Linked DNA regions of Homo sapiens: all the other regions are linked to region 2. Evidence: promoter capture Hi-C in 16 types of primary human blood cells and fetal thymus (Javierre and others, 2016). All regions are on one chromosome and are shown on one strand. The core of a region is centred on a gene start or on the middle of the fragment in contact, and the rest is flanking DNA. Distances in the headings are between cores, read along the strand shown.

What was found. The method cuts DNA at HindIII sites, captures the fragments that hold promoters and counts their contacts. A CHiCAGO score of 5 or more calls a contact.
Region 1: a fragment that was not itself captured here is called in contact with the fragment with the promoter of RNF113A in region 2 in 5 of 17 cell types (non-activated CD4 T cells, neutrophils, naive CD4 T cells and 2 more); the score reaches 5.9 in non-activated CD4 T cells.
Region 3: a contact is called between a fragment that was not itself captured here and the fragment with the promoter of RNF113A in region 2, in 7 of 17 cell types (total CD4 T cells, fetal thymus, naive CD8 T cells and 4 more). The highest score is 6.9, in total CD4 T cells.

The regions. Positions count from the first base shown.
Region 1 is chrX:119,538,160-119,541,680 of GRCh38, reverse strand. It overlaps STEEP1 (STING1 ER exit protein 1), which reads left to right. Exons shown (of 7, transcript NM_022101.4): 6 at 261-353; 7 at 1,892-3,521. The coding sequence ends at 1,954. Among named protein-coding and RNA genes, the nearest start is that of STEEP1, 25 kb to the left of the region's middle. The HindIII fragment of the contact is 1,354 bases long and covers 1,453-2,806 here.
Region 2 is chrX:119,870,106-119,874,182 of GRCh38, reverse strand. It overlaps RNF113A (ring finger protein 113A), which reads left to right and starts at 2,450. Exons shown (of 1, transcript NM_006978.3): 1 at 2,450-3,708. The coding sequence starts at 2,570. The coding sequence ends at 3,601. NDUFA1 (NADH:ubiquinone oxidoreductase subunit A1) reads right to left here and starts at 2,351. Exons shown (of 3, transcript NM_004541.4): 1 at 2,170-2,351; 2 at 790-879. The coding sequence starts at 2,271. RefSeq lists an enhancer at 2,028-2,737. The HindIII fragment of the contact is 12,659 bases long and covers 1-3,729 here.
Region 3 is chrX:119,508,563-119,512,229 of GRCh38, reverse strand. No RefSeq gene overlaps it. Among named protein-coding and RNA genes, the nearest start is that of SLC25A5-AS1, 41 kb to the right of the region's middle. The HindIII fragment of the contact is 1,153 bases long and covers 1,448-2,600 here.

The DNA of each region.
Region 1 (3,521 bases), core at 880-3,379, 330 kb after region 2:
GTGAGCCAAGATTGTGCTACTGCACTCCAGCCTGGGCAACAGAGTCAGTCTCTGTCTCAAAACAAACAAACAAACAAGCAATCAAACAAAATACCCTAAGTGCTCCTGGATTACTGAAAAGATGGAGAATGGAAAAGGAACAGAGTCCTGCCATTTTAGTCATGATTTCATGATTTGAGTAGTATACATTATGACTTAACGTCTTTGTTGTTATTCCTTGGTGAGACTTCCGGTTTAAGGATGCTCCTTTTTTCCTTCAGAGGGAAGTTGCTGACTCATATGCACAGAATGCCAAAGTGATTGAAAAACAGCTGGAGCGCAAAGGCATGAGCAAGAGGCGACTGCAAGAGCTGGTGAGTAGCAAGGGGTAGCAAGGTGCTGGGGCCCTATCATTTGGATGTCTTGGTCTGAAAGACCTTTCAGCAGGCAGGGAAATCTTTTAGGAAATCTGTTGGGAGGTTTTAGAGTAGTTGGCTGCCAGTTTTATAACCCTGGTCTGTGACTGTCAGTATACCCTACTCTGTAGTAGTGACCCCAGGATCTAGGCCTTAAATGATGATACTTGTTATAGCCCTAACTAGGATGATATTTTATTTTCTGTATTTTATTTTTATTTTATTTATTTATTTATTTTGGAGCTGGAATCTCACTTTGTCGCCCAGGCTGGAGTGCCGTGGCGTGGTCTCAGCTCACTGCAACCTCCGCCTCCCGGGTTCAAGGGATTCTCCTGCCTCAGCCTCCTGAGTAGCTGGGACTACAGGCACGTGCCACCACACCTGGCTAATTTTTGTATTTTTAGTAGAGATGGGGTTTCACCATGTTGGCCAGGCTGGTCTCGAACTCCTGACCTCAGGTGATCTGCCCGCCTCGGGCTCCCAAAGTACTGGGATTTCAGGCGTGAGCCACCACGCCAGGCCAGGATGATATTTTAATCTGCTTCTTGTGGTCCAAGATCAGGAGTTAAAGGTCAGGGTTTCTGGACGTTGTCCCAGGATGTAATGGCACATGATAGGGCTACCTTGGTAGTACCAGGATTGGGGCTGGTCATTGCTTCTTAAAGCACTGGTGGTTTTCTGCACTATTCATGGGCTCATCTTAGAGCATATGGATCTGTGTATGATGGTGCCTATGTATTTTTTTTTGACAATTACTTAAAATATTTCATCAAAATCAGATATCACTATGTTGGTGTCTCATCCAAAGGTATACCAGTCTCTTTGTGTCTGTAGTGAGTTTTTGGTGACAGAAGTGGTGGGTCCTGGGAGCTGCTTTACCTTGCCATAGTCGTTTAGAACAGTGCTTCTCAACCTTTCAAAGGCAGAAAGACCAGTGCTTTCCTTTTTTCAAATTTCCATGAACAGATTTGTAATTTATAAAATACAATAAAAATGAATTGTCTCAATTTTTATCAGATTTTAAAAATTACTATTGTGTCAAATTGCTATAAAAGCTTCTAAATGCTTACTATCCATTTTTGTACATATTTTGTGTGGACCAATAACAAATAGTTCATAGACCATATAACTTTAAGTAGCACTGTTGTAGAATGATGTTCTTCCTGTTCTGCCAAGAATAGCATACTGGTATGCCACAGTATTGGTTCCCTCAGCCTGTGGGGGGCGCTGGGGCTGCTGGAATCCCTGCGCTGATTTCCTGTGGCCACAGCCTTGTCTTTTTGCCCATTTTGCCTACAAATAGCATTTTTTGTGTATGTGCTATAACATCAGAAAGGTTGGAAAGTAGATGTTAGAGGTATATAATGATTTGGGAACCATGATTCTAGTTTGTACACTAAATGAACATTAAGGGAGAGTGTTTGGGTTGGTTAGAATAAGGAAGGAAAATAATTTCATGTCATGTATCAAGACATATGCTTTTTTTTTCTTTCTAGGCTGAATTGGAAGCCAAGAAAGCGAAAATGAAGGGGACCTTGATTGACAACCAGTTCAAATAACCAGGCCTTTTTCTAAGCCCTAGACTAGAGGCAAGCATTTAGATCAGGAGGCAAAGTAATTTCTTGATTACATAGACGGATTCCTATTTATGCCCTAGCAGAAGGCTTTACGTTGTTTCCCATTGATTCTCCTACATTCAGTGAGGTCTTTAACTGAGTCCATTTAACTTGCTTTCTTTTTTTTTTTTTTTTTTTTGAGATAAAGTCTTGCTCTTTCGCCCAGGATGGAGTGCAGTGGTGCGATCTCGGCTCACTGCAACCTCCGCCTCCCGGGTTCAAGCAGTTCTCCTGCCTCAGCCTCCTGAGTAGCTGGGATTACAGGCATGTGCCACCACGCCTGGCTAATTTTTGTATTTTTAGTAGAGACGGGTTCCACCATGTTGGCCAGGCTGGTCTCCAACTCCTGACCTCAAATGATCCACCCACCTAGGCCTCCCAAAGTGCTGGGATTACAGGAGTGAGCCACCGTGCCCAGCCTTGCCCTGCTTTCTAGGAGATGGAGTTTTCTGAATTTTTCTGTATTTAGGTTTTCTGTACTATTTTTTGTCCACTTGATGCAAACTTCTTCAGCTGTGTAGAAACTTTATGAATAGATGAGTGCTTGAGTGTCTCCAGTCTCTAAAGTGGCTGCTTTTATTCTTTCTTCAAAGTTAATAACATGTTGCAAGATTTTTGGACAAAATATTATGGTGTGTCATAGGAAAAGCACCATGAATTATATTTAGGTATAGCAAGTCAGATCCTTTGAAGTGACTCTGTCTCTGTTCTTAGAAGGGTTCTTGGAATTGGCTGTGGTTTGAATCTTTCTACTGTCAGAGGAGACCCATTAAAAGCCAGAATCTGCATAAAGCTTTCTTTACTTCAAACACTGAAGCTGTAGGCGAGCCATCCCGTATCGACTTTATACTCAAAGAAGGAAAAGCCAGATTGCAGTGAGTGGGTAGGACAGCTCAGATCCAAATGAAAGTAGGGTCTCAAGTAACCCAAGGGTGGCCGGGTACGGTGGCTCACGCCTGTAATCCTAGCAGTTTGGGAGGCAGAGGCGGGCAGATTGCCTGAGCTCAGGAGTTTGAGACCAGCCTGGGCAACATGGTGAAACCCTGTCTCTACTAAAATACAAAAGAAATTAGCCAGGTGTGGCGGCATACCCCTGTAGTCACGGCTACTTGGGAGGCAGAGGCAGGAGAATTGCTTGAACTCGGGAGGTGGAGGTTGCAGTGAGCTGAGATTGCACCACTGTACTCCAGCACTCCAGCCTGGGCGACAGAGTGAGACTCTGTCTCTACAAAAAAAAAAAAAAAAAAAAGTAACCCAAGGGAGGGAGCTACCCTCTAGTCGGGCAGCTGATACTGCTTCCTTGCATGGATACATGGGAGGGAGACGTTATAGATTAAGAAATGATAGCAAGATAAACAAAATGATTTGTTGGGTATCTTTTACTTTACATTTGTTATTTGCAGAGGAGTGTTGTATATATAGATGTTATTTTATGTCACACTGCTTCAATGATACCTATATCCATGTGTTTGTATCCATGTTTTTATCCATTCAACTGTATTAAAAGGTG
Region 2 (4,077 bases), core at 1,201-3,700:
CAGCCTTCTGAGTAGCTAGGACTACTAAACTCTTCTATAAATGGGTAATTGCGATAACTAGCTACCTGTTGGAAAAAAGTAAAGTTAATCCTCCTTTCACATTATACTCCAAAATGACCTGTAGATGTAACCAAATAACTAATTTTTTAAAGAAACTAACAATATTAGGAGAAATTATTTTTTAAAAGTATTTTTATGAGCCAGGTATAGTGGCACACCTGCAGTCCCAGCTCCTCCGAAGGCTGAGGCAAGAAGATCACTTGAGCCTATGAGTTTGAGGGCCAGCCTGGGCAACACAGCAAGACTGTCTCTATTTTATTTTTTGAAAGTATTTTTATAATCTTAGATAGAAAAGGCCTTTGTACGGGAGACATAAAAACCTAGAATCCAGAACAACAAAACATGATACATTGAATATCAAAATTTAGAACTACCTGATGAAAAACATCATAAAGTAAAAAAGACAAACAGCAGACTGGGAAAAATGTCATATATAAAATAGACAAAAAAATTAAAGTCTAGAATATATAAAGAACCATAGCTCAAAAAGAAAAAGACAATGGAACAGGCAAAGGATATAGGCAACAATCCACAGAATAAGAAATATATGACAGAAGAAAAACTAAAAAAAAAAAAGAAATATAAAAGATTAAATATGTAAAAAGATGCCAACCTCACTAGTAGATAAGAAAATGCTAGTTATATATTAGCACTGTATGACCCTTGGCAAGGCATTACCAGAACCCACCTCAACCCTGGCAAAAGGCTGGCATCAGAGTGGCATCTTACCTTTGACACATAGTAACGATCAACTCCAGAGATGCGCCTATCTCTTTCCATCAGACTCCAGTGATACCCAAAATGAGCAACCCTTTTTTCCTTCAAATAAGAGACAATTATTGTTGCAGTTTATAAAAGTGAGTGACCCAATTGATAGATACTACAATTTTTAAAAGGGACATTCCAGAGAAATGGAATCATCGTTTAAATAAAAATGCAAATTAGTAGTACAAAGAACAGAATCTCCTAAATAAAATCAGACCACTAAACTTTAGGATTAAGTTGGTACCTGTGACTTTTTACACTATTTTAACCAACATGAATTTTTTTTCCTTTTTTTTTAAAAAAAAAAAAAAAGAAATATCTAGTTGTTGTCTTTTGGGACACTAAGAAACAACAGCTGTAGATCACACGTGAAGAACAATAACAAAATCAAAAAGTAAATAAATTTATATCCTGTACTCTTGAGATGATGTGAAGGACTAGGAAGAGGGGAAAATGAATCCTGATGTAAAAAAACAAGATCTCGCAGTAAATTCCTAAAGGCTTGCAAGAGAAAGTGGGGAATAAAAAAGTCAAGGGTGGCCGGTCGCGGCGGCTCACGCCTGTAATCCCAGCACTTTGGGAGATCAAGGCGGGTGGATCAACCGAGGTCAGAAGTTCGAGACCAGCCTCGCCAACATGATGAAACCCCGCCTCTACAAAAAAAAAAAAAAAGCCAGGCGTGGTCCCGGCTACTCGGGAGGCTGAAGCAGGAAAATTTCTTTCTTTATTTATTTTTTTTTGAGACGGAGTTTCGCTCTTGTTGCCCAGGCTGGAGTGCAGTGGCGCGATCTCGGCTCATCGCAACCTCCGCCTCCTGGGTTCAAGTGATTCTCCTGCCTCAGCCTCCCGAGTAGCTGGGATTACAGGCATGCGCCACCACGCCCAGCTAATTTTGTATTTTTAGGAGAGACGGGGTTTCTCCATGTTGGTCAGGCTGGTATCGAACTCCCGACCTCAGGTGATCCGCTCGCCTCGGTCTCCCAAAGTGCTGGGATTACAGGCGTGATCCACCGCGCCCAACCAGGAGAATCTCTTGAACCCAGAAGGCGGAGGTTGCAGTGAGCGATTCTCAGGCTTGAGCCACCTTTTCTAATCTACCTTCCCGGCCCCCGCGTCGCTACTCTGCCCTAAGGCCCACTCTGATACACCCAGAAACGCTGTTTTTCACTAGAGCAGGATGTAGTTTCTATCGGGCTTCGTTTCGCAAGCCTCGGCTTCTAGGCAACCGGAAGCAAGTAGAGGGCCGACCTCGGAGAGAGGGTTCGCAGGCTGACGGTCTCCCTGCCCACCACCCTTTTCGGAAATCAGCCCGTGGAGTCGGCCCCCGGGCCGAAGCCGGCTTACCTTGCCCCCGTTAGTGAACCTGTGGATGTACGCAGTAGCCAGTCCTGGAATCAACAAGCACACGCCCATGACGGAGAGTCCGGGGAGAATCTCGAACCACATCTCTGCCCCGTTACCTAGGCCAAAACCCTACTTCTGGGTCCTTGAAAGGTGACCTGGCTTCGCCTCTCTTCCCAGCAAGCCCCGCGGCCGCCCGCGAGCGGGGCGGTGCCACGTACGGCTCCGGAAGAAGCGACGGAATCTGCTAGGGCACAAGAGAGACGGGCGCTCGGGCTCTCGCAGTCCTCTTCCGTCAGTGTCTTTTGCTTCGACTCCCGGCGGAGCGCGCAACGTGGAGTGACGTGCAGGGGCCAAGTGCAACCCAGGCAGCCACGGCTGTTTCGGAGCTCAGGACTCTAAAATGGCAGAGCAGCTTTCTCCAGGAAAGGCGGTGGATCAGGTGTGCACCTTCCTTTTCAAAAAGCCTGGGCGGAAAGGGGCTGCTGGACGCAGAAAGCGCCCGGCCTGCGACCCAGAGCCCGGAGAAAGCGGCAGCAGTAGCGACGAAGGCTGCACTGTGGTTCGACCGGAAAAGAAGCGGGTGACCCACAATCCAATGATACAGAAGACCCGTGACAGTGGTAAACAGAAGGCGGCTTACGGCGACTTGAGCAGCGAAGAGGAAGAGGAAAATGAGCCCGAGAGTCTCGGCGTGGTTTATAAATCCACCCGTTCGGCGAAACCCGTGGGACCAGAGGATATGGGAGCGACAGCTGTCTATGAGCTGGACACAGAGAAAGAGCGCGATGCACAAGCCATCTTTGAGCGCAGCCAGAAGATCCAGGAGGAGCTGAGGGGCAAGGAGGATGACAAGATCTATCGGGGAATCAACAATTATCAGAAATACATGAAGCCCAAGGATACGTCTATGGGCAATGCCTCTTCCGGGATGGTGAGGAAGGGCCCCATCCGAGCGCCCGAGCATCTACGTGCCACCGTGCGCTGGGATTACCAGCCCGACATCTGTAAGGACTACAAAGAGACTGGCTTCTGCGGCTTCGGAGACAGCTGCAAATTCCTCCATGACCGTTCAGATTACAAGCATGGGTGGCAGATCGAACGTGAGCTTGATGAGGGTCGCTATGGTGTCTATGAGGATGAAAACTATGAAGTGGGAAGCGATGATGAGGAAATACCATTCAAGTGTTTCATCTGTCGCCAGAGCTTCCAAAACCCAGTTGTCACCAAGTGCAGGCATTATTTCTGCGAGAGCTGTGCACTGCAGCATTTCCGCACCACCCCGCGCTGCTATGTCTGTGACCAGCAGACCAATGGCGTCTTCAATCCAGCGAAAGAATTGATTGCTAAACTAGAGAAGCATCGAGCTACAGGAGAGGGTGGTGCTTCCGACTTGCCAGAAGACCCCGATGAGGATGCAATTCCCATTACTTAGGTTTCCCATAATTCTTAAATTTAAAAAATAAACGTTTTGTTCTTTTGGAAGTCTTACTTCGTGTCCTTCCTTTGTAGAGAAAGTGACAGAGCAGGCGGGTGGTGAAGTAGGGTCCTGGATTAAAAGCTTCAAGGTAGGTATAATCAGGATTTTTAGCCCTAGGATAACCATTTTGCCTGTGTTTCTTTTCAGAACACTTTGGCATAAATTATAGGGGTGGGAGTAGTTTGAGAAAAGAGCTATAATTTGCTCGAAGTAACCAAAGCCATGATGAAAGCAAGACCTCTGAGCCTGTTTATTATATCACATTTCTGTATCACTTAATAGTTTACAAAGTACTTTCATGCATTCTTTCTCTTGGGAGCCTGTACTACAAAATATACCCGAGCCAAGGTGTTGGGGAGAGGGGTTGTGTTTGGGGAACTGGTAGCTAGCACCACAGGCTTCACATATGGGAAATGTTCCTTGCTGTCTTG
Region 3 (3,667 bases), core at 775-3,274, 360 kb after region 2:
TAAAAAGCCATATATTGCCGGGCACTGTGGCTCACGCCTGTAATCCCCACACTTTGGGAGGCCGAAGTGGGTGGATCACTTGAGGCCAGGAGTTTGAGACCAGCCTAGGCAACATGGTGGAACCCCGTGTCTACCAAAAAAGACAAAAATTAGCTGTGTGTGGTGATGCACGCCTGTAGTTCCAGCTACTGGGGAGGCTGAGGCACGAAAATCACTTGAACCCGGGAGGCAGAGGTTGCAGTGAGCAGAGGTCATGCCACTGCACTCCAGCCTGGGTGACAGAGCAAGACTCCATCTCAAAATAAAATAAAATAATAAGATATATATATTTCTATATATTTCTATATATATATTTCTATATATAGAAATATATATATTTTTATATATATATATAGCATCCCCAAGATTTAGAATCAGACAGACCTGGGTTTGAATCTTGATTTTTCTTCTTATTAACTGTGACCTCAGGCAAGTGGCTTAACTTCTCTAGGCCTCAGTCTCCTCATTAATAGAATGGGGAATAATAATACCTGCTTTTCTGGCTGTTCTGAGGATTTATTCACTCATTTGAAAGATAGTGGCATGCCTGTCCTACAGTTGTTACTAGGTTCAGGGGATACAAGAGATTCAACGCCTGGCACATAGTAAGTGCTGAATTAATGATAACTTGTTTTTGAAGGTCATGCCACGAATTTGGACTCAAAATAGCAGGCAGTTGAAAGCATTCTGAAAAGAGAAGTAGTAAGAAAAAAACACTACTTTTTTTTTTTCTTTCTCAGGCAGGGTCTCACTGTTGCCCAGGCTGAGTGCAATGGCACAATCATAGCTCACTGCAGCTTCGACCTCTTGGGTTCAAGCAGTCCTCCTGCCTCAGCCTTCCAAAGTGCTGGGATTACAGGCGTGAGCCACCATGCTCAGCAGGAAAACAATATTGAAGAGGCTTCACCCCTACCTGCAGTGTAGAGGCAGGATTGAAAAATGCCAGCCTTATCATTTTCATAGAGTTGTTCTGAACATCATAAAATAGGGCAGAGCAAGAGGCCTAAGACTAATAAATAGTCGGGAGTTGAACCCATATTGCAACTGGGGACAGGGACTGCTCCTAAAATCATAGGGCCACAGTCTGCCTCTCCCCTGGGAAGCAGCAAGGGGAAGGAGGGGCTGAGAAGAAGCCTTCTGTCTGCTCACTGGAAGCTGAGGGGCTTCATTTTGCCGATCACCTGGCCTGTCTTCGGGCAGTGGTTTCGGGATGTGGGAAGAAGGTGTGGGCGTGCATATGCAGCAGTGAGGATGTTTGAAGGATGTGAGAACACAAGAACATAAAATGCCACCCTGTGGCTGAGCCATGGATTCCTCTGACTCAGACAAGGTCATCATGGAACATGAAGACCCAAATGTCATCTTTGAGTCCTTTGGTAAACTATCAGGTGTGAGTTTATCCAAAGCTTTCAGAAATTGCAGTATTTCTTTTCACCCTGCCTCACCAATTGGGATGTTTTCCACACGTTTTCGCTTCCATTTAAAGATAAGTTATTTTATTAAAAACATACCTCTCTGGAAGAGCTCTACAAGGAGAACTACAAAACACTGCTGAAAGAAATCATAGATGACACAAACAAATGGAAACACATTCTATGCTCATGGATGGGTAGAATCAATATCGTGAAAATGACCATACTGCCCAAAGCAATCTACAGATTCAGTGCAATTCCTATCAAAATACCAACATCATTTTTCACAGAATCAGAAAAAATCCTAAAATTCATATGGAACTAAAAAAGAGCCAGAATAGCCAAAGCAATCCTAAGCAAAAAGAACAAATCTGGAGGTATCACATTACCGGACTTCAAATTATACTACAAGGCTATAGTTACCAAAACAAAATAGTACTGATATAAAAGTAGTTACATTAACTGGGCGCGGTGGCTCACATTTGTAATCCCAGCACTTTGGGAGGCCGAGGCTTGTGGATCACCTGAGGTCAGGAGTTCGAGACTAGGCTGGCCAACATGGTGAAACCTCATCTCTACTGAAAGTACGAAAATTAGCCAGGCATGGTGGTGCGTGCCTGTAATCCTAGCTACTCAGGAGGCTGAGGCAGGAGAATCACTTGAGCCTGGGAGGCAGAGATTGCGGTAGGTCAAGATCACGCCACTGCACTCCAGCCTGGGCAACAGGGAGAGACTGTCTCAAATAATAAAAATAAAATAAAATAAAAGTAGTTATATTAGACCAATGGAACAGAATAGAGAACCCAGAAATAAAGCCAAATACTTACAAACAACTGATATTTGACAAAGCATACGAAAACGTAAGTTGGGGAAAGGATACCCTATTCAATAAATGGTGCTGGGCAAACTGGCTAGCCCCATGTAGAAGAATGAAACTGTATCCCTATCTCTCACCTTATGCAAAAATCAACTTGAGATGGATCAAAGACTTAAATCTAAGACCTGAAATCATAAAAATTCTAGAAGAAAACCTAGGAAAAACTCTTCTGGACATTCTTTGCCTAGGCAGGCAAAGAATTTATGACTAAGACCCGAAAAGCAAATGCCACAAAAACAAAAATAAATGGGACCTAATTAAACTGAAAAGCTTCTTGCACAGCAAAAGAAAAAATCATCAGAGTAAACAGAACCCACAGAATGGAAGAAAATATTTGCAAACTATGCGTCCAACAAAGGAGTAATATACAGAATCTACAAGGAACTCAAACAAATCAGCAAGAAAACAAATAAACAAATAATCCCATTAAAAAGGGGGCAAATGACACGAAGAGACATTTCTCAAAAGAAGATATACAAACGGCCAACACACACATAAAAAATGCTCAACATCACTAATCATCAGGGAAATACAAATTAAAACCATAATGAGATACCACCTTACCCCAGCCAGAATGGCCATTATTATTATTATTATTATTGAGACAGAGTTTTGCTCTTGCCCTCCAGGCTGGAGTGCAGTGGCATGATCTCGGCTCACTGCAACCTCTGCCTCCCGGGTTCAAGCGATTCTCCTGAGGCTGAGGTGTGCGGATCACCTGAGGTCAGGAATACAAGACCAGCCTGGCCAACGTGGTGAAACCCCATCTCTACTAATGATACAAAAATTAGCCAGGCGTGGTGGCAAGCACCTGTAATCCCAGCTACTTGGGAGGCTGACACAGGAGAATCACTTGAACCCGGGAGGCGGAGGTTGCAGTGAGCTGAGATCGAGCCATTGCACTCCAACCTGGGTGACAAGAGCAAAACTCCATCTCCAAACAAAAAAAGAAAAAAAAAGAAAAAGAAAAAGAATGAAATAATGTCTTTTTCGGCAACTTGGATGGAGCTGGAGGCTGTTATTCTAAGTGAAGTAACTCAGGAATGGAAAACCAAATACTGTATGTTCTCACTCAGAAGTGAGAGCTAAGCTATCAGTACACAAAGGCATGTGGAGTGGTATGATGGACACTAGAGACTCAGAAAGGGGAGGGTGGGAGTGGGTGAAGGATAAAAAACTGTAAAATGGATACAATGTATACTACTTGGGTGATGGGTGCACTAAAATCTCAGAATTCACCACTATATAATCCATCCATGTAACCAAAAACCACTTGTACGCCAAAAGCCATTGAAATAAAAAAAATTAAAACAATAAAAAAGGTGAAAAAAAAAGAAAA